2 separate regions of the Homo sapiens genome follow, and region 1 is linked to region 2. Evidence: promoter capture Hi-C in human tissues and cell types (Jung and others, 2019). All regions are on one chromosome and are shown on one strand. Each heading gives the region's core, a stretch centred on a gene start or on the middle of the fragment in contact. The rest is flanking DNA. Distances are from core to core; before and after follow the strand shown. Region 1 overlaps NFASC (neurofascin). Region 2 holds the start of TMCC2 (transmembrane and coiled-coil domain family 2).

What was found. The method cuts DNA at HindIII sites, captures the fragments that hold promoters and counts their contacts. A contact is called where the count stands out against the background at its distance.
Region 1: a contact is called between a fragment that was not itself captured here and the fragment with the promoter of TMCC2 in region 2, in 1 of the 25 tissues and cell types used here (dorsolateral prefrontal cortex).

The regions. Positions count from the first base shown.
Region 1 is chr1:205,015,966-205,021,630 of GRCh38, reverse strand. NFASC (neurofascin) reads right to left here. Exons shown (of 30, transcript NM_001005388.3): 30 at 1-5,323. The coding sequence ends at 5,092. Among named protein-coding and RNA genes, the nearest start is that of CNTN2, 24 kb to the left of the region's middle. RefSeq lists enhancers at 2,053-2,848, 2,849-3,646. The HindIII fragment of the contact is 9,872 bases long and covers 1-5,665 here.
Region 2 is chr1:205,224,244-205,230,626 of GRCh38, reverse strand. TMCC2 (transmembrane and coiled-coil domain family 2) reads right to left here and starts at 2,681. Exons shown (of 5, transcript NM_014858.4): 1 at 1,856-2,681. The coding sequence starts at 2,062. RefSeq lists a silencer at 2,581-2,760 and an enhancer at 2,891-3,030. The HindIII fragment of the contact is 10,382 bases long and covers 1-6,383 here.

The DNA of each region.
Region 1 (5,665 bases), core at 1,549-4,048, 210 kb after region 2:
GGAGTCAGAAGGCCCAAGTTCAAGCCCTAACCTTACCTTAGTTTACCAGCTATGTGATCTTGAGCAAAAATCCCTTCACTTCTGTGGATTTGCATATCCTTGTCTGTACGATAGATCATTTCAATGAGATCAGCTCTGGGATTCCTTCACATGCCGAAATCCGATTCTGTCCTAAGCTAGATGCCTTGTACCTATTTCCATTCTCCTCATTATGGAACACCCATTTAATACTAGTGTGCTGATAGGAGGAACAGCAGCTTCAGGTGAGGCCTGAGACACTGTTTGGTGGACGCTTGTGGCTCTCCTGGATGGTTCTCCTTTCTCTCTGATCCTTCTCTGAATGTGTCTCAGGAAGGCCCATTATTAGTAAGGAAGGGAAAGAAAGGACACTTCCCTGGGCTTGGGCTGTGCAGGCTGGGGACAGCCACAAAGTCTGGCTTGGACTCACATGGGGTAGCCCCTGTCTAGGTTAAGGAATGCTAGGAGATGGTCAAGGGAGGGCACTGGTCTGACTCTGCCCGGCTTGCCTATGCCTCCCAGGGCCTTGGTCTCCTCTTGACATATCAAGCTCTTTGTTTCATTGTTTTGAGGCCTCTCTATTTTTCCTTTTTAAAATCAGGGCCCTCCTCCATGCTACTCCTTGGCCACCACGCAGAGCTCAAGCAGGATCCTTTGCCAACTAACGGTGTAGATGCAACCGCAACCATGGGCTTTTGTGTGTTTGGCTGGGGCTGGCCGGAGTGGTGACTGGGCAGGAGGTCACTCTGCACCAAGGTGTCATGAGTGGGGAGCGGTGCCTTGTGCCGGCCTCCCAGGAACCTGCTGGCCACTGAGAAGGGATTCTCTGGCACTAGCCCCAGCCGACGGAAAGCCCGAGAGGCTTCCTCTCCTCAGAGAGTTAGCAAAGCAGCCTCACAAAGACAGACAAAAATGTGCTATGTCCCTGCTCCCTCCATCAAATGGGCTGTTTGTGATGCCCTAAGACTTGGCCCTGCTCCAGCACAGGGCGCCAGAAAGAGCCCGCTGCCCGTGCCATTGCTTGGGCAAAGTTTCCCACTCCTTCAGCTCAGATGCTCTCTCTAGGTGCTGCCAACAGGAATTACCTAAACAGGGCCCAACCCTGGTGGCCTTTCCCACTCCTCTAAGGTGCGTTCCTCATCCACACAGAGCCCTTTGCATCTTATCTCACGCAACTTGGATGTGGACTAACCCTCTCCAAGACAATGTTGGAATCTGGATCGCTATCCCTTGGAAGCACTGCTTGGCAACAGGGTTGTGGTCTGCTGTATGTATGTGAGCATGCGTGGGCACTGGGTGTGGCAGGGGAGCTTGTCCGTTAGCTGGGAAACCCACACATCCTCGGGTTTCCACCGTCTTCCCAAGGCTGTGGTCAGGGAAACTATGAATGCGCTATGTGGGCTCAGTTGCACCTTGCAGGGCAAGCAATGTTGGCACTGGCTGATTTTCAGACCTGTGGTCACCTCTCCCGACTTCAGGGCTTGCCAGGGGCAGGGGCAATGGGGTGGACCAGATGTCTCCAACCTCTCAGAGCACAAAGGAGGGTGCTGGTTTGGCTTTCCTGTTAGCTTAAATTCAACCATCTCCTCAAAAGCAAGGCAGGAAAAGATGAGTCCCATTCACCATCACCCAGGCAAGGTGGGAGGCAGCTGTCCCCTGACCGATGGCAGTGTACTTCCCGAACCCTGGCCTCGACAATCCTTCAGGGGAGCCCGTGCCTCTCTGTAGAAAGAGGTATTCAAGGAGGAACTGAATGGGAGACAGAGGCATAAAAATACAGACAGGTTAAGGAGCTTGCCCCAAGAGGCAGAGCAAAGAGGCTCAGGAAGCAGGACTGTTTCTCAAGCCACACCGTGGTTCTTGACTGCTCTGTCCCGCCCAGCCTTGGTGACCAGATGGACCAAGCTCTCCCTCAGAATCCCTCTCTTCAAGCTCGCAGCCATCAGTGGCTTAAGCGGTAGAGGGAAGAATGCTCCCAGCTCAATGGCCACTGTGTCCTAGCACTTGATTTTAGGACTGTCAGCCCCATGAGGGCAGGGACCACATCTAACTCACGCGCCATGGTATCCACAGCTCAGGCCTTAGTTCAGACTGGATTTCAGATTATTTGCTGAATGAATGAATGAATGAATGAATGGACAAATGAGAGCACAGGAAACCACAGCTCTTAGGGCTGAGCATATAGGTGGGATTGCAGCCTAGTCAAAGGAACTTCTAGAGTTACTGTAAGATGCCCAGCACTTTCCTCCCAGCCAGACAGACTGGAGCGCCGATGGCATGGTGCTGTCCTGGCTTCACTGTTGGTATGTCTTGGGGTAGTTGCTTGGGAGACCCAGCTGGCAGGCAGTACTGGGCAATTCCACTTTCCTGCTGAGCTGGAGTGGACTCTGACATGGGCTCCATGGAAAATGCACCCTCCTCTTCCCCAAAGGGGCTGCCTCCTGAATCCTGCAATCCCCACGCCTCAGCGTTTGATCTCTCTGACCACCTGCCTTCCTTGCTTGGGGAAAACTTAATTCTTCAGCCTCAGATTTGCTTCTGCTCAGAGGGGTGTGATGGCGTGGTGATGGGGGGCAGCTCTCAGCACCCACAGAACAGCAGCCTGAGAGAGGGCTAACAGCATTTTCTTCATACACAAAGGACAGTACAGAGCCTGGCAGGACACTGGAACGAGGTGCAGAGGCAGGCTGCGGGCTTACTTCTCCCCAAGACCCTTACGAGAGAAGCAGCCCTTCCCAGTCACCAGGTGGTGTGGCAGACTTGCTCATCGTCCCTTCCTGCCCTAAGGGCCTGCTTTCGGTGCAATGGGTACGCTGGCATGTACGGTGCAGTATGGAATGAGTGTCTGAGAAACTGACTACTCTGCTCAGATCCAAAGCGTTTTCTGGAAAGGCCAGTCCTTTAATTCAGCTCACAGGCACACTTCCCTGACATTCCCTTCAGGGACAGTGGGCCTAGTATCCAAGCAGGTGTTGGAGGAAATCCAGGGGAGGGGCCCTCCAAGCTCACACCCCACCCCCTGCTGTTTACCCTGTCCCCTTGCACTGTGATAAGCTGCCCCTCAGGCGTCCAGGCAGCAGCCCTAGCTGAGGCTTGGCCCAAATGACCATTACACACTCTCAGGTTCAAACAACCTTATTGGCTCAGTTCTGGGCTATGGTTTCTTACCAGCAGAGAGTGTGTGTCTATGGGCTTGACCTTCAACTGAATGATTATTAATGATGCAAGCATTGCTAATACCTTTGCGGCTTAAACATGTGGCAAATGTTGCTTTAATAAAGTCACGGAAGGACAGAGCCCTGGTCTGGCCCAGGCCCCCTGGCTGGCAGCCGGAGAGGCTCAAATCGGAGGCTGTGCCCATGGCAGCTGATCCATTCCTGGGGATCAGCTTCACCCTCCTGAAACTGACCTCAGCTGCAGAAACAGCTAAAGGGTTCCTCTTAGACTCAAGATCTCCCCCTCTCCTTCTCTGTCTCTGAGGCTAGGTACCTTTGGTTTCAAAAATGCATTAGGTGGGGAGGATGAAGGCAGCACCTTCGGTCTGAGAACTGCAGGTCTGCGAGTGTCTCCATTTGGGGTGACTGGTGAGGACGTGTGTTGAGTGGCCACTTCTGGTCCTGCCGGAACACTTGCATAGGCTGCCCTGCTCTCCTGGAGATAGACGTTGCTGGAGGCTTCAAGGCTTGCAGGGGGGGAGCTGGGAACCTGGGAACTCCAGGGACAGATCAGCGCTGCATAAGGCATACAAAGAGCATTGAGTCCTCCCTAGGTGGGGGCATCACAACACTGAGTACGGTGCCACCTCAGGGTCCCCTGATATGTATACACCCCAATGAAAGGGCAGACCTGCTCAGTCTTGGGGCAAGTCCCCATCCACACACCATGTCAAACAAGAGCCTCAGTGTCCTACAGAATTGGCTGAGAAGATGATATCTGCTAGAGATGGAAGGGGAGCAGTGCCTTATGCCCCAAACACACCAGCAAAGCTTTTGCATCACAGGGTTCCATCTCCTCGAGGGTGGCAGCATGGGCCCTGGCCACGTGGACAGGTGCCCTCTACTCTGGACAGGGTGGGTGTGGCCCTCTATCTACATCCTGGGTTTCACCAGTGAGGAGGCATGAAGTCCAAACCCAGCCTTTTTCTTCTCTCTAGAAGTGAGCACAGTGCCCCCAAGACCAGACACCTGATTTTCTTCTGCTGGAGGTACACAGTCACTGGCGTTGAAGTCCTTTCTATCAGTGCCCACTCCTGTTCCTCAAACGTCTTCAGAGTCAATGCAGCTCACATCTTAGATATTCCAGAGAAAAGGGCAGGGGAGGAATGAGGAGCAAGAGGTAAACACACCTCCCAACCAAACCAGAGAGCAGCAAGGAGGCCTGCGCACCTTCTCCCTGCCAAAAATACTGTCATTTTCCAGAAAGGAGCCAAGCCCAGCTCAGCAACTGACAAGGCCGAGGCAGAGGGGCTGGGGGCCAGGGGAGGCATATGGCGAGAAAGGCATCCTTTGGAAATGCATTGGCCCAGAGGTGGTTTGAATATTACAGCCTGTCTACGTGTTCTGGTATGGATTCAATCCTTTTTGCCTATCTTTGCAAAAAGGATTCTCCTGGGGGAGAATCCACTTATTCTTTCTTTTCCAGGGACTCTTTTTCAAAAGGAAAAGAAAACAGAGACATTGGGTCTGGAGGGGAAGATGCACAAAGCGAAATTAAGACAATGAGAAGTCCCGTAACCAACAGAAAAGGTGAGCGTGTGCCGAGGCCAAGGGCGGACAGTGTGGTGGAACGCTCGGGGTGGCTGCGAGACCGGGCAAGGGGCCAGGCTCCCTCCAGCTGAGCTCAGCCACGGCTCCAGCTCTCCCACACTGGTGGCACCCGGGGCTGAAGGGGGGTCATTGGGAGGGGGCTTGTGGGTGGCTTGGTGGCTACTGGTCCTCACAGCTTGGCAGACCCCCATATCGTACCCTTGTTACTGAAGGTGGTGGTGGCTTCGTGGTAGGTCTGCAGTGGTTTTGTCTCCCCTTCTCCCCTCCTCCCACTTGCAAAGTGGTGGCTGTGCCTGGGTGGGCTCCGTTAGGCCAGAGAGTAGATAGCATTGACAGGTGACGTGGCCTCTGAGCTTTCGTTGCCCTCTGTTTCCTCCTTGTCCTTTTTGACCGTGTACTGGCCGATGAAGGAGCCGTCTTCATTGAACTGACCCTCGCCACCCTCGCCATAGTCCACCAGGCTGTCGTCACTCTCCTGCTGCTTGATGGTGCCGTCCAGAGATGTCTGACTGCCCTGCAGGGGCTTGTTGTCCTCATCACTGGCCAAAGAGAGACAGAGAATCTCAGGTGGGGTGAGATGGGGCAGCTGGCCTCCTGCCAGCACATGCCCTACACAGCTCAGAGAGGATGGGATCCAGGAGACCGCCCAGTCCAGCCCCCGCTTCACCCTCCCCTGTCCAGCCTGCTTTGCAGAAGGGAAATGGAGGCCTAGAGAGGACAAGCACCTTCTCTAAGGTGAGGTTGCAGGTCAGGGCAGGGCAGGGAGTGGAGCCCATGCTTTTGGGCTCCTGTTCTGGGTCTTTTCCATGAGATTGGGTCCCTGTGTGTGGTGGAAGTGGACAGAGGATGGCCACCCCATGGTGAGGCAGAGCCACTGCTTG
Region 2 (6,383 bases), core at 1,432-3,931:
GAGGGTCTCATTGGTCAAAGATTCAGGGTTTGCTGGCCAGACTCATCTGGACCGGCTCAGAATGAGGCTGAAGTCTGCAGCAGAAGGCTAGCCTCCTCCCCACAACAGCATTCAAGAGACCCCTTCCCCCTCACCATCTCACTTAAAACAGGAACTACACCTCCTGACCACATGGGATGGACTCGGGGGTGACAGCAGAGATAAACACCAAGGACTCCCTGGGCCTGGCAAAAGCTCAAGCTTCTTGTGCAGAGAGAGCCTATCCCACAGAGATCCTCTAGACATAAGTCTAGCCACGAAGCTCTGAAAAGGACGGCGGCAGAACCAGAGTTCAGATTTGAATAATTACTGCAAAGTTTAAAAAACACACACAACAATAACCTAGTCGTCCCCCTTTTCACTCCTCCCCAAGGCACACAGACAGGTAACATACACAGGTAAGAGCACACACACTCACCTGCGCTCTGACTTCCTGACTCTGAGCTGCTCAGGCCAAATGAGGAATGGCATTGGCTTATTCTGGTGAGCTCCTTAGTGGCTGCTGCCATAGGATATAGGCTTTATTAAATGCAACAGAGTCCTTTCCGTTTCCCTAGCCCAGACCCTGCACCTTCTCTGGAGAAAATAACTGTGAGGCATCAATTTCCAAGGCATCTAAGTTCCTTCCTTGGGCTGACATCTCGCTCAGCTGGACGGTGAGCTGGCTTGAGAAGCCTGAGCCTGCAGTCCCTGTGGCAGTTCCGGCAAAGGTGCATTATTTATCTCAGCTGCTGTTTTAATTGATAGAGATATATTCAAGACAGCTCGCCAATTGTCTCGGCAACCTCAGGCCGGAAAATAAACAGCTCCATGTGAACAGTTCTTTCGGCTTCTGGTTCTAGCTGCTGGCTCAGCATGTATGCAACTTGAACTGAGGCCCCAAACCAGCCCAAGCACTGCTCCACCACCTGTCAGTTCTCCACCCTGGGGGTTGGTTCAGCAGGCAGGCAGAGATCTCCAAGCACTATCTTAACCTCTGGCTCCACCTAACGGCAGGAAATCCACCTTCCCCCCCCGCCCCCGCCACCACCCCCCCCCCCCCGCCCCTTCACAGATCGGCAAACTGAGCTTCATCCAGGAAAGCGCTCAAAGATCCCAATGGGGCCCGGCACGGTGGCTCACGCCTGTAATCCCAGCACTTAGGAAGGCCGAGGCGGGTAGATCACCTGAGGTCAGTTCAAGACCAGCCTGGCCAACATGGCGAAACCCCGTCTCTACTAAAAATACAAAAATTACCCGGGCGTGGTGGCGGGTGCCTGTAATCCCAGCTACTCTGGAGGCTGAGACAGGAGAATCGCTTGAACCGAGGAGGTGGAGGTTGCAGTGAGCCGAGATCGCGCCACTGCACTCCAGCCTGGGCGACAGAACGAGACTCCGTCTCACACACATACACACACACACACACACACACACACACACACACACACACACACAAAGATCCCAATGGGTAGAGACTTACTCAGCAAGGAAAACTAATGGTCACCTGCTGTCCACTTTTTGGTTAGCATCTTGGATTTCTCCAGCCCTTTGTCTGCGAATAACACTTCACACATTATTCAAACAATCTCGGATGGGTGAGTCACTAAAACGCTTGCTGAATAATGGGGAACAAACACAGAGACCTGACACGGAGCTGAAAGACAGAGGCATAAATGGTACCTGACGTCCCCCCTGGGGTGCCAGCAAAGCATCCGCTCATCCTCTCTGACCTTTGCCTGGCTTCCCCCCTCACTTTTATCCTGTTAAAGCACTTCTGCGTGGGGTGGCGAGAGCTAAGTCGCGGGCTGGGCTTGCCGGGGGGATGGTCTGCGCTCACCTTTAAATCAGGAGGCTTGCTTCGGGGACCTGGGTTGGGCGCCGCGGCAGCGCCGGCGTCTGAAGTTGGCCCGCCAGCAGAGTTAGCACCCGTGGTCTCCCCAGGCCGGAGGTCCGCGCCCGGCAGGTGGGAAGCGGCATCTTCCAGCCCAGCTCCATCCTCCTCGCCCTGTTGTTGCTGCAGCTCGTCCGATCTGCACCTCTTCATGGTGTATGTGGGTCGGCAAGGGGAATCTGTCCTTCCAGCGCGCCGTCTTGGGGAAGACCGCACCCCCTCTTATATTCATATGAGGCCTGGGGTCTAAATTATTAACAAGGAGGGGAGATGGCAGACCACAATTTCTTGAATTAAAAAAAAAATTCTTAAAGGCGGGTGAGGGAGGGGCGAGAAGGGGGAGCCTTGGTTATAGCTTGGAATAGTTCATTTCGACCTGGGGAGCGAAGACAGGTCACAGTCGAGGCTGGGCAGCAAGAGTCCTTGGGCAGTCATTGCAGGAGGGAGAAGGGAGACAACCCCCGGCCCCCAAACTTTCTGCTTCAGGGCATGGGCAGGACGGAGAGGAGCTGGGCGGCACAGCGCATCCCTCCCGGCCGGCCGGGCTGCGGGGCGAGGCGGGGCGCGGGGCAGCCGGCCGGGCAGGTCCTAGTCGGCCGCCATCGGCGCCGGCTGCAGCCCCCGGCCCTGCAACCGGCCCCTGCCCCGCATGGTCCGGCCGCGGAGCCCGCAGCGCGCCCGGCCCCCTCCCCGGCCCGCGCGCCCCGCTCCCCGCCTGACGCGCAGCCTGCCGCAAAGCCGCGACCGCGGCCCGAGCCCGCGGCGAGCGCGCAACCTACCCCGCCCGGCTGCCTCCGCCCGGGAGCGGGAAGGCGAGGCTAGGAGGGAGTGACAGCGGCAACCGGCCAATGGGAAGCCCGCGGGGCTGAGGGGGCGTCGCGCAGCTTCGTTTTTGGGGTTGGTTGCACCGTGCGATCCCCCAGGAGAGGGCTGGAGGACGATGCTGCTGCGTTTTTGCATTGCAGAGAGCGGGCTGCAGTTCAGGGGCGGGGGCGGCGGGCGTGGGAGTCGCAGTTTCGGCTCCAGCTTGAGGGACCCTGCCGAGGAGGGCTCGCCCAGGATTTCCTCCACCCATTCGCTTTATTTGGCGAGAAGGAGCACAAGAGGGATGTTTATTATCACTGCTTTTTGGGGCTCTTAACTTTGCACCTTCTAGCCATAAGGGAGACACCTATCCCCTCTAGGATACTTGGTCTGAGTTAAATCTATGCCTACATTCAGAGCTGCAAATGCCAAGGGGAGGGGGCGTTCTCTCCTCATCGCCCCGTCCCCCGCTTTAAGTGCATTATTTCTTAATGAGACTTTACTTGGCATAATTTATGCTCAGAAATTGGGAAGAATTTCATATAAAAACACAATAACGTATGTGAGAGTTCCTTACAAACTGTGAAGCAGCTTTTAAATAAGAAAGGGTATTAATGGCAGGAGGTTGCTACATATAGATGTGTGGAAAGGGAATGCTGTCTCTCTTTGCATAAATCTCAGCCAAACTGTGCTGAGTAATCTGGAAGCAGAAGAGAGCAAACGTTGGGGTTACCAAGATATGGAGAGTAGTAATAATAACAACCCCATCTGAGTGTCTATTGTATGCCTCCTGTGGACACAATGGATTTTACTCATCCAGCAACCAGTGGTTCACAAATTGTGATCCTTGGACTAGCAACTTCAGCATCACACGGGAACTTGATAGAAATGCAAATTCTTGGCCACCAGCCAGACCTAGAGAATCAGAAGTAGTGAGCCAAGAAATCTGTGTTTTGACAAGCCCTCCAGGTAATTCTGACACACACTACCCTTTGAGAACCACTGGCCTAGACAGTGAAGGGGCCACACGGTCTCTAAAGGATTTTACAGTTTACCAATCTCTTTCGCACCCATCATGCCATTGTAGCCTCACTTCAGTCTCACTAGTCGGAGTTTCTTGACTTTCTGTTCTGTCTTCTTCCCATTCCAACCACTCATTTTAATGTGTATCCTAGAAGAGACTAATTTGTTAAGAATTTACTTCAGCCAAGCAGCTACTTTCTAAACTAGGCAGCTCCACTTTTAGAAGATAGGAATTTAGGATGGGCTGGGAATGTGGAACCACCCCCCACATCTACCACAAAGAATCGAGCACAATGTGGAAACACAAAGCTATAAGCCTTTATTTAGCATTTTCAATGGTGAGGGGATGGCAGGATGCCAGTGTAGACCGTGGGCAGGACTAGACAGAACCGGTGGGGGCAGGTTCCCATGGTGCAAGGTTTCAAGCAGAGGAATATACTGCTCCCTGCCTGACTTGGCCCAGATAAGTGCAGCGGCCCCAAAGACCCTGAGCAAGTCTTGAGGGGCACGCGGTGGCCAGCAAATGGTGAGCATGCATTGACACATGTTCATGACCTGACTCGAAGCCGAAGGAAAGTGAAGGGATTTGGTTTAAGGAAGGGATTTGGTTTCGTTTAAGGAAGCAGAGAGCATTATAATTTTGAATTATGCCTCATTTCTATACTAGATAAAAGTTGGTCTTAAGTTTGATTTTTATATTATCATATACATACAGCATGACAGCCACATTTTCTACTTGTCGTCATATTTGCAAGGTGTGATTCAGGTCAGCAAAAAAGTCTGTGGTGTGTTTCATAAAATCAGCTAATACTTTACATTCCATTTTGGAGAGGCATCATAGCATAATGGTTAAGAGCTCAGGCTCTATGGCCAGATAGGGGACAAATCCTAGCTCTGCTCTTCACTGACCATGTGAGTGGGGACACGTTATCTAACCTCTTCATGCTCCAGTTTCTGAATTATTTGGAAGTAGGGATAATGACAGTACCTACCATACAGGGTGTTGGGTAATATATGTAAAGCACTTGGACATTGCCTAGCAAAGAATGAGGGCCATAGCTATAACCACAGATGTCATCCAGTTTCAGAAGTGTTGCACATTTCACTCCAATGCTTCTATCTTCAGGAGTTCAAATGTGTCCCACCAATTTCTGACTTTCACTGAGTGTCATATTATGGAATAAGTGTGCTACTGCCAAAGAAGTTTGGCTGAGAAGTCTGTGTAGAGACCTGAGTGACCTATAACCACCAGTTTGAAGCCAATGGCAAATTTTCATTAGCCGCAGCAAATTCTTGAGCACCTAAGAAAATCAGAACTTGAAAGTACTTTGGTTGGTTGAAATTTTGTTTACGGCATTAGATTATTCTATCATTCTACGTTTCTTTGGGAAAATATAGGCACAAATTATGTTTTGATATTCAAGATTAGACAAAAGTTTGCAGATACACAATGCAAGTGATTATATTTTCTATGTAGGAGTAGCATTTCCATTCTGTTTTGGCACACCTAGTTAATTACAAGGAAATAACATGATTTAGTGGGAAGAACATTGGTCTTGGTGTCAGAAAATTCATGTAAGCATTCTAGTTCGGTTACTTCTTGTGAGCTTAACCTCTTTCACCCTCGGTTTTCTCATCTATAAACCAGGGCTAATACTATCTATCTTCACTGGTTATTGTGAGGATGAAGGTAGATAATGCACGTGAAAATGCTTGACACATGGTATATGTGCAGTAAAACTAAGTGAAACAAAAATAATTAACTTGTCCAAGCCCCCCATATACCATATGAGAAAGAGAATTATCCCAATAAGCTGAATGCTTTTTGTGAACAGAAATCCCAGTTAAACTAATGAAAGGGAGCACTCTGGTAGTATCAAATTTGCTAAACCAATAAGTATACACACAAGGAGTATAAAGGGCAGAATTATGGAATCCTGCTCTCTTGTCAACACCCAGTTCATTTAGTTTGATAAATGGTTGAAGCTTTCATTATAGAGGATAAGGTGCCAAGATTAACAAAGTGTAGAGTAGGGTTTTGTTTTGTTTTCTTTCTTTTTGTAAAAGCAATTAGGTCTGAAAAATAAAAGGCTTCTCTTTTTGCCAATAGTAAGAAGCTTGCAGATTATCCAAGGCAATTCTATGTCCTATTCCATAGCAATACTTAAAAAAACATTTAAACATCAAATGGATAAGTGGTTGTCAGTGCGCTATTTTAAGATTTAACATACTGAGTAGAGTGATTCAAAGGTAAAAGTACTCTCTAGAGGGACTAGATATAATAATTTTGCTCACTGAATTTTGATACCAATATCATTGCATATACTCCTTTGTTAATGTAATTCTCTTCCCTTTTTGTTGGAGATGACCACTTCCACGCAGTGCACTCCTTAAAAGAAATTGAGTTCTGTTGGATTAGGAAGAGTAAACTATGCAAATAATCCTTAAGAAGATTGTCTGGATTGTTGATGTTGTCACAATCCCACCACCTAAATACAGGCTTTTTACTGGCTATTGTAAAAGGAAGAGAGGACCAGGAAGGCTCTATATCACTCCTGATTGGAGAAAGCTCTTATTAGCCTAAACTAAATTTTATCCTATTTTTTACTTGAAATGTACTCAGCAGCATTTTCAACATTATTACATT